Linked DNA regions of Homo sapiens: region 2 is linked to region 1. Evidence: promoter capture Hi-C in human tissues and cell types (Jung and others, 2019). All regions are on one chromosome and are shown on one strand. Each heading gives the region's core, a stretch centred on a gene start or on the middle of the fragment in contact. The rest is flanking DNA. Distances are from core to core; before and after follow the strand shown. Region 1 holds the start of HEXA (hexosaminidase subunit alpha). Region 2 overlaps GRAMD2A (GRAM domain containing 2A).

Region 1 (4,410 bases), core at 1,190-3,689:
AGAGAGATGGGATTTCCTCGTATTACCCATGCTGATCTTGAACTCCTGGGCTCAAGTGATCCTCCCATCTTGGCCTTCCACAGTGCTGGAATTGCAGGTGTGAGCCACCATCCCCAGCCTGTGATCCATTTTTAATTAAGTTTGTGTATGCTGTGAGGTAGGGGATCATAGTTCATTTTTCCCACATAGGGATATCTATTTTCTTCATCACCTTTTATTGAAAATAACTTGCCTTCCCCACTAAATTAAATTGGTGTCTTCATTGAAATGGAGTAATAATCAAATGGCTCTTTTCCTGGACCCTCTATTCCGTTCCATCTATTTGTCTGCCATTATGCCAAAACCCCACTCTAGTGTATAGTAAGGGGGGATATTTTGGAAGATCAACAAATTTATCTTGTGTAACTTACTTTTATGTATGCATAAGAATATTTGGTTTAAAAATCTGGTTAAGTCTAAAAGAGCTCTTTCAGTAATAATTAAATAACTGAATCCCTGTAATCCACCATGCTCAGCCCCATTAGTAATTTTTATAGCGTCTTTATTTGGATCTAGCTCTTTCATCTTGTGTAACTCTTTTAAGTAAATGACTCCTCCCTTCTGGTACAGGTTGAATATCCATAAAAGGGTGCCTTGGCATGTGCTCAGTCCTGAAATTCTACTTTGATCTACTGCTCTCATCTTTGAAACTGCTCTAAACACTCCCCCAAATTATTGATCCTGTGGGCCTGATTATGAACTTGGCTCTTCTGACAATACTTCTCAAATCCTGTACCTTTGGTAACATCTCTCCTGACTGGCAGAGTACCCAGACACTTAATTAATGCTGATGAAAATTAAGATTTAAGCAAAGAAGAAATTGGTGTAAGAATGCAAGCCTTAGGATCTGAAACTTGATGACTGTGGGATCTAATTTCTGCTTCTTTTGCTACAAGCTCTGTTTTTGAATAATCAACTTTCAAAGACAAATTGCTTGATGAATCTCTGTATTGTCAGAATGTTTCTTTGATTTCCCATCAAAGCCATGTATGTGTAACTAGTAATTAGGTACCTACGACCTGAATATAAATTATCATTATTTCAGTAGCCCTTTATTTGTTTTTGAGAAAGGGTTTCACTATACTGCCCAGGCTAAACTTGAACTCCTTGGTTCAAGTGATCCTGCCGCCTCAGCCTCCTGAATAGCTGGGAGTAGCTGGGACTACAGGGATGTGTTATCATGCCCAGTGAAAGCCCTTTATTTTTAAAAGTTCATTTTCCTGATCTTTACATGTATTTTAATACTAAAATTAAATTTAAAAATTTTAAAAAGTACCTACTAACCAAATAATGCCACCCAATAACAATAGCATTATTTGTATTATGTTCTGGTAATATAGTGGTGAACAAGGAAGACAGGGTCTCTGATAACTGTGGAATTCTCCTTGATCACTTCTCAAGCCTCTCTTCCGGATACTATTTCTTGGATCTACAGCTGTCTTCCTTCCCCACTTCTGTAGTTCAGTCTCTCATTATTCTCTACCTCCAATAAAAAGGGGCCTCCTAACTGGTTTCTTATGCAACTACTCAACATGGTATTTCTAAAATGCAGATCTTTCGGGATGATTTTCAATTGCTCAGAGAATAAATTCCTTGACTTTCTACGTAAGGCCCTGCAGGACCAGGCCCCTGTCATTATCTCTGAGCACTCTCCATCTTGCACCCAAAGCCCCAGCAATATCTTACTGCTTTCAGTAAATACACACCGGGCTATGTGGGGTTTTGTCTGGGGAAAGGGGATGTGAGTTGTAACTAAGAGATTTATAGTCAATCTTGAAGGGAAGAGCTCATATTGGAGGCAATGGAATGCCTCAAGCTGGCTCTGAAAGTACACATTTTTTCCAGTCATAAGTAGATCACATTTGTGTGATCTTGTGATCCTCTCTCTAGCAGAGCCGTGCAGACTACCTACTTCCGGCCCTTTCTTGCCCCACGAAATTTCACATCACAACGACTTGTGGTTTTAATCCTCCGTTTTTCTGCTTCTGAAGTTACTTCAGCCTGGCAAGTCCTTTACCTCCCCGTAGGCCTGGCGAGCTGCATCACAACATTCAAGATTCACCCTAGAGCCATCTGGGAAACTTTCTTCTCCAGGTCGCCCTGCGTCCTCGCCTCCCCACCCCGTTCTTCTCGAGTCGGGTGAGCTGTCTAGTTCCATCACGGCCGGCACGGCCGCAGGGGTGGCCGGTTATTTACTGCTCTACTGGGCCCGTGAACAGTCTGGCGAGCCGAGCAGTTGCCGACGCCCGGCACAATCCGCTGCACGTAGCAGGAGCCTCAGGTCCAGGCCGGAAGTGAAAGGGCAGGGTGTGGGTCCTCCTGGGGTCGCAGGCGCAGAGCCGCCTCTGGTCACGTGATTCGCCGATAAGTCACGGGGGCGCCGCTCACCTGACCAGGGTCTCACGTGGCCAGCCCCCTCCGAGAGGGGAGACCAGCGGGCCATGACAAGCTCCAGGCTTTGGTTTTCGCTGCTGCTGGCGGCAGCGTTCGCAGGACGGGCGACGGCCCTCTGGCCCTGGCCTCAGAACTTCCAAACCTCCGACCAGCGCTACGTCCTTTACCCGAACAACTTTCAATTCCAGTACGATGTCAGCTCGGCCGCGCAGCCCGGCTGCTCAGTCCTCGACGAGGCCTTCCAGCGCTATCGTGACCTGCTTTTCGGTTCCGGGTCTTGGCCCCGTCCTTACCTCACAGGTGAGTCGGACTTGTCCCGCCCTGTTCCTGGGCCCTGAGAGTGCCTGCCTGGGGACAGTTCCCCCAGGGCTCCAGAGACGCCCTATGGGCTTTTGTCCAGCCCTCTGATCACAGGCACTCCACTTCCTCCTCGAGCTGCATTAGGTTTTCATCCAAAGATAACTACTATAGGACTACGGTTCAATCAGGAGATTAATTTATGGAAAATACTGTGCCAGCAGAAATCTAAGGTGATCCTTCTGACCGTGTTCAAGCTAGCCAGGGTCCTAGTGAGACTGTGAGCAAGGGCTGAGTAGAGACCAGAGAAAACACTCAAAATTGGGGAGACATAATACAAGAACTATGCAAAGTTACATACAAGTTTCTGGCACATAGAATGTTTGGCGGGCGGATCACGAGGTCAGGAGTTCGAGACCAGCCCGGCCAACATAGTGAAACCCCGTCTCTACCAAAAACACAAAAAATTAGCCAGGCGTGGCGGCGCGCGCCTGTAGTCCCAGCTACTCGGGATGCTGAGGCAGGAGAATCGGTTGAACCCATGAGGTGGAGGTTGTGGTGAGCTGAGATCGCGCCACTGCACTCCAGCCTGGGCAACAGAGCAAGACTCCCTCTCAGAAAAACAACCCCCCCCCCCAAACAAAACAAAACAAAACAAAAAAAGTGTAAATTGTGAAAGAAATCATAGAACATAAGGAAGTGAGTTTCCAGCGGCCACTTGGAATGGGATGGTAGATGTAATTAGCCGGGACTGAAAAGAGGGTATTCCAGGCAGGAAGAAGGGCTTGAGCAGAGGCACAAAGAATTATGATTGAGTTCAAAGTTCAGGTCTAGTGGATGTGATGAGTGGGGGCTGGGGATTGAGGAGGGATGAGGGTGGGGAAAATGTGGGGTTGAAGAGTCAAGAGCGCTTTAGACATTGGTTTCACATAAAATGGAAGGGGCTAACAGTTTTCTTTTAGGCAGCTATGTAATCAGTACTGAAAATTGTATTTGAGGATAATTATTCCACAGCACATTTGTAAGTCGAGCCAACAATGTAAAGGAATACAATTCTGCTGCATGGGTTCAAAATTTAGAAGTTTCTTGATAATCTGGAATCTAGCTCTTTGGTTATATTGTATAGATGTTATGGGGGTGGGAGCCACATTTACGGTTAAGTCTTGTAGTAATATTTTATATGATGTTTCAAGTGTGTTTAAATTACTTTCACAAAAGTTATCATTTGATATATAGAATTAAAAGCATTTAATTATACAGATGACCCTTAGAGAGTGACATTTGATTTGGGGAAAGAAACACAATCTCAGCATCAGGGTAGTCCTTAACTGGTAAAATGCATTAAGCTGGAGAGGATAAGAGGCCTGCTGTTGAGTGTGGTAGATCACATTTTCCTCTGAATCCTTCATGACAAATAATAGAGTGCCTTACCCAAGATTGGCACTCAGAATATGTTGATTTTGGTTTAGAAGAGTTTGAGCCTGGTTTATGGAAAAAAAAATCCGTCTAACTGGTATATGTCAATCCCAGTGCTGGGCACTCTGAAGGTTACAAGAAAAGTCTTAAGACCTAGGCCTAGGCTCTATAGTTCAATTGCGAAAATATGAAACAGAGGGAGGTACACAGTGAATTATAAGATTCTCAAAAGCTTTATAGGTTGTTTCCTACTATTGTATACAT
Region 2 (4,410 bases), core at 1,172-3,671, 180 kb after region 1:
TCTCAAAATAATAATAATAATAATAAATAATAAAGAAAAAATATGAGTTTGGAATCAGATATCTCCATTACTTCCAGCTAAAGCGTCATCATAGGTATTTCCTAAGTTTTAAGTTCTGGATAAAAACTCCACTGGTGCCTACTATCTCCACCATGAACTCTGTTAAGGAACCTTCACTTTTGTATATGCCTGCTGTTTTCTCTTCATTTCCCTGTCTTCTGCATAAGCATGCCCTCTTGCTAAGTAATTCAAGCATAAGGTCTTGGAATACTAAAATCATAAGCTTAGGAGAAAGAATAAAATAAAACTTATTCCCCGTCCCCCCAAAATCCCTCCAATTTCCTTCCCAGTTTCGGAAGATGTTTCATTTATTTTCAGAATTTCTCCTTTGCTGTGGCTACCCATGGAAAGCCCTTGAAGTCAAGAACGGTGTAGCATTCCACTCTGACATCTGGTGTGAGCCTGAACACCAGAAAATAATTTTTCTCCCTTCCAGGAAAGTGAAAATGATTTCCCTCAATTCTGCAGCCATCTCTGATGCAAGTGTGAGTTTCACTTGAGGTCGGCCTTGGCCACTGTGCGCTATTCACCTGGACTTCAGGGCATCAGTCTGTCACCACCTGTCATCACCAACCTTTGAAGCTTTAATTCCCCAGTTATTTGCTAATGTGGGAAAGGAAGGAGGAGGGGGAGGGCAGAAGCCCCTGGGAATGGAGCTTCCTGTGTAATTAAGAAGTAACAGCCTCCCTGAGGTGCACCTGCGTGCTCCGGCACAGATTCCAAAAGACAGGCATTGTTCTCAGGGATATAAGCCACTGTAGGAGAAAGTGATTCCTCGCCCCTCCTTCCCACTACTATACATTTTTATTAGTTTAGAAATGCACGGCCTGGCGCGTTGGCTCACACCTGTAATCCCAGCACTTTGGGAGGCTGAGGCGGGCGGATCACGAGGTCAGGAGATCGAGACCATCCTGGCTAACAGGGCGAAACCCCATCTCTACTAAAAATACAGAAAAAAAATTAGCCAGGCATGGTGGTGGGCGCCTGTAGTCCCAGCTACTCGGGAGGCTGTGGCAGGAGACTGGCGTGAACCTGGGAGGCGGAGCTTGCAGTGAGCAGAGATCACGCCACTGTACTCCAGCCTGGGCGACAGAGCAAGACTGCGTCTCGAAAAAAAAAAAAGAAATGCACAAGCCGGGTGTGGTGGCTCACGCCTGTAATCCCAGCACTTTGGGGGGCTGAGGCGGGTGGATCGCCTGAGGTCAGGAGTTTGAGGCCAGCCTGGCCAACATAGTGAAACCCTGTCTCTACTAAAAATACAAAAAATTTGCTGGGCGTGGTGGCGGGCACCTGTAATTTCAGCTACTAGGGAGGCTGAGGCAGGAAAATCGCTTGAACCCGGGAGGCAGAGGTTGCAGTGAGCCAAGATCACACCATTTGCACTCCAGCCTGGGCAACAAGAATGAAAAAAAAAAAAGAAATGATTGGTCATCATTTAGGACTGGAGGCGTGTTTTAATAACCTGTGGCGACTGAACCAATCTTTATTTATTTATTTATTTATCTATTTATTTATTTATTTTTGAGACGAACTGTCACTCTTGTTGCCCAGGCTAGAGTGCAATGGCACGATATCAGCTCACTGCAAACTCCGCCTCCCAGGTTCAAGCGATTCTCCTGCCTCAGCCTTCCGAGTAGCTGGGATTACAGTCATGTGCCACCACGCCCGACTAATTTTTTGTATTTTTAGTAGAGATGGGGTTTCTGCATGTTGGTCAGACTGGTCTTGAACTCCTGACCTCAGGTGATCCGCCCACCTTGGCCTCCCAAAGTGCTGGGATTACAGGCATTAGCCACTGCACCTGGCCGACTGAACCAATCTTTAAAGCCTTGTCATAAATTAGTGTTTCCTCAGTGATGTTTGTAATTACATTGTTAATTTTTAAGCAGTTTTTGGCTGGCTCTATTTCTTTTTAACCTAAAGTAAAGATCACTTGAAGAATTAGTTTAAATCAAACATGAATTGCTTTTCCTCCTAACATCTGTACATGGCACATCAATGGTATAGTAGTTAATTGTCGAGATCCTGCTGGTATTTCATTTCATTGCCTTACCCACCGCACAGCAGCGTGGGCAGTATGCCTGACCAAACAACTGTGACTGATTATTAGGATTTTTTTTCTCTCTTCTGTAGGAAAAAAGTTTAGATATTTCTAATATGTGTTAGAATTAATCAGATTACTCAAAACCTGCCAGTAATCACTCAGGCCACACAAAATGCTATTTTAAAATACATTTTGAATTTTTGAAGGATTACTTAGAAATTTTATTTTAAAATAACCCAGTGACAGTACTTCAGAATTGGTATTCCTATTGGGCTTCCTTCATTACCAGACAAGTTGAAACATGTTTATATTCTGAATTGCTAACTTTTTATTGTGGAAAATTTCAAACATATACAAAAGGAGAGAGAATAGTATAATAAGTGGCATGTACCCATCTCCTGGTTTTAGCAATAATCAAGTCATGGGTAAAGTTTGTTTCATATATACCTCCCTTCTCCCTGTCTCCTGGATTATTCTGAAGCAAATTGTAGCTATTATATTATTTTATCCAAAAATATTTCAATGTATATCTATAAAAGAGCCTTTAAAAAATATTTCTACAATATCATTATTACATCTAAAAAATGGCAGTAACTTCTTAATCAGATAGCTAGTCAGCATTTACATTCCCTCCATTGTCTCATAAATGTCTTTGTACCATTTAATAAGGATTCAAATGAAGTTTATACTTTGACTAAAGTCAAAGAGTTGCCATTTTGAATCTCTATATCTTTATCTCTTTAGTCTATGGTTTCCTCTTTTCTTCCTTTTCTTTTTTCCTTGCAAATTATTTGTTGAAAAAAACAGGCTATGTTTTCTATAACTTTTTCTGATGTGTTGATGTTGTTTAAACCATTCCTTTGATTTATGTATTTCCTATACATTGGGAGTTGGACCTACAGTCTCGGTCAGATTCTGATGGTATTGTGTGCTTCAAGAAGTATATAATATCAGTTATTTCTCTTTGAAGAATGTTAGCAGCCATTGATGATTATTTCATGCAGACCCATTATTTAATTAGGGACTGAAATATGGTATTAGTCTAATCCTACCAGTTTTTCATCATTTATTAGGAGACTCTTTCTATAAAAAGATGTGTTCCCAGCTGGGCACGGTGGGTCCTGCCTGTAATCCCAGCACTTTGGGAGGCCAAGGCAGGCGGATCACCTGAGGTCAGGAGTTTGAGACCAGCCTGGCCAACATGGTGAAACCCTGTCTCTACTAAAAAAAATACAAAAATTAGCTGGGCATGGTGGCGGGCACCTGTAATCCCAGCTACTCAGGAGGTTGAGGCAGGAGAATCGCTTGAACTCGGGAGGCGGAGGTTGCATTGAGCTGAGATCACACCATTGCACTCCAGCCTGGGCAACAAGAGTGAAACTCCATTTAAAAAAAAAAAAGATGTGTTCCCTCTTCAACCATTTGCTTATCCTGAGGTGTAGCCAGTACTAGAAAGGCAGAATAAATACTTGACTCTTATTTCTTAGTTTTCAAAATCGTGGTATGGGCTCTAGTAGCCACCAAAGGTGGCCAATGAGTCATTTCGGTGTATTATAATCTCATGGATTTAAACATATTTGATGTGTTTTAATCCATTCTTATTGATGCTCAAATGGTCCCATCTTTAAGTTGGTTCCTGAGTTCTTGAGCCATGACTCCAGGCTTCAATGACTTCTTTAGTTTCTGGTATGATTAGATGTTTTAGGCTCCTTTTTGCATTTCCTCAGATCCGGAATCAGCCATTTCCCCAAGGAGCTGCTTAATTAGAGGAGTATTTTCTATCATTTGGGGGTCATAGGCTACGTTGAGAGTCTAATAAAAGTGAAATGCTCTCTTCCCAGAAACATACTCCTTTGTTCAGACCCAACAATTTTGCCCAAAGTTCCAGGAGTTCACAGATCCACCCTCCAACTCTTGCCTGGACCTCAGAGGCATGTAATTTACATTAGATTGTCAATCTGCGTCCATAATGATGGAAGACTTGGGAGAATGGGAAATAACCAAGTGTCCCCATGTGAAAACAGAAACTGGAAAAGTTAATGAATCTTGCAATATAAGAAGACACAAGAGAACAGAGAGTTGTGGAGCAGACTTTGCCCTGGTCACACCAGCAGTGGAGATCCAGTTTTATTAAGGAAGGAACATGAGGACAAAGGTTTGTTCCTTGGTGAAGGATTATTAGCTAGAAGGTGGTCCATTTAGGTATTGGGAAGAACCTTTTTTTTTTTAGACAGAATCTCACTCTGTCGCCCAGGCTGGAGTGCAGTGGTGCAATCTCGGCTCACTGCAAGCTCCGCCTCCCAGGT

Evidence for each region. The method cuts DNA at HindIII sites, captures the fragments that hold promoters and counts their contacts. A contact is called where the count stands out against the background at its distance.
Region 2: a contact is called between a fragment that was not itself captured here and the fragment with the promoter of HEXA in region 1, in 1 of the 25 tissues and cell types used here (aorta).

Annotation. Positions count from the first base shown.
Region 1 is chr15:72,374,043-72,378,452 of GRCh38, reverse strand. It overlaps HEXA (hexosaminidase subunit alpha), which reads left to right and starts at 2,439. Exons shown (of 14, transcript NM_000520.6): 1 at 2,439-2,733. The coding sequence starts at 2,481. HEXA-AS1 (HEXA antisense RNA 1) reads right to left here and starts at 2,340. Exons shown (of 1, transcript NR_027262.1): 1 at 1-2,340. RefSeq lists enhancers at 1,680-1,729, 2,060-2,199, 2,091-2,647, 2,648-3,203. The HindIII fragment of the contact is 13,358 bases long and covers 1-4,410 here.
Region 2 is chr15:72,190,300-72,194,709 of GRCh38, reverse strand. The region is part of intron 1 of GRAMD2A (GRAM domain containing 2A); the gene reads left to right. Among named protein-coding and RNA genes, the nearest start is that of GRAMD2A, 5.3 kb to the left of the region's middle. RefSeq lists an enhancer at 465-1,088. The HindIII fragment of the contact is 5,455 bases long and covers 1-4,410 here.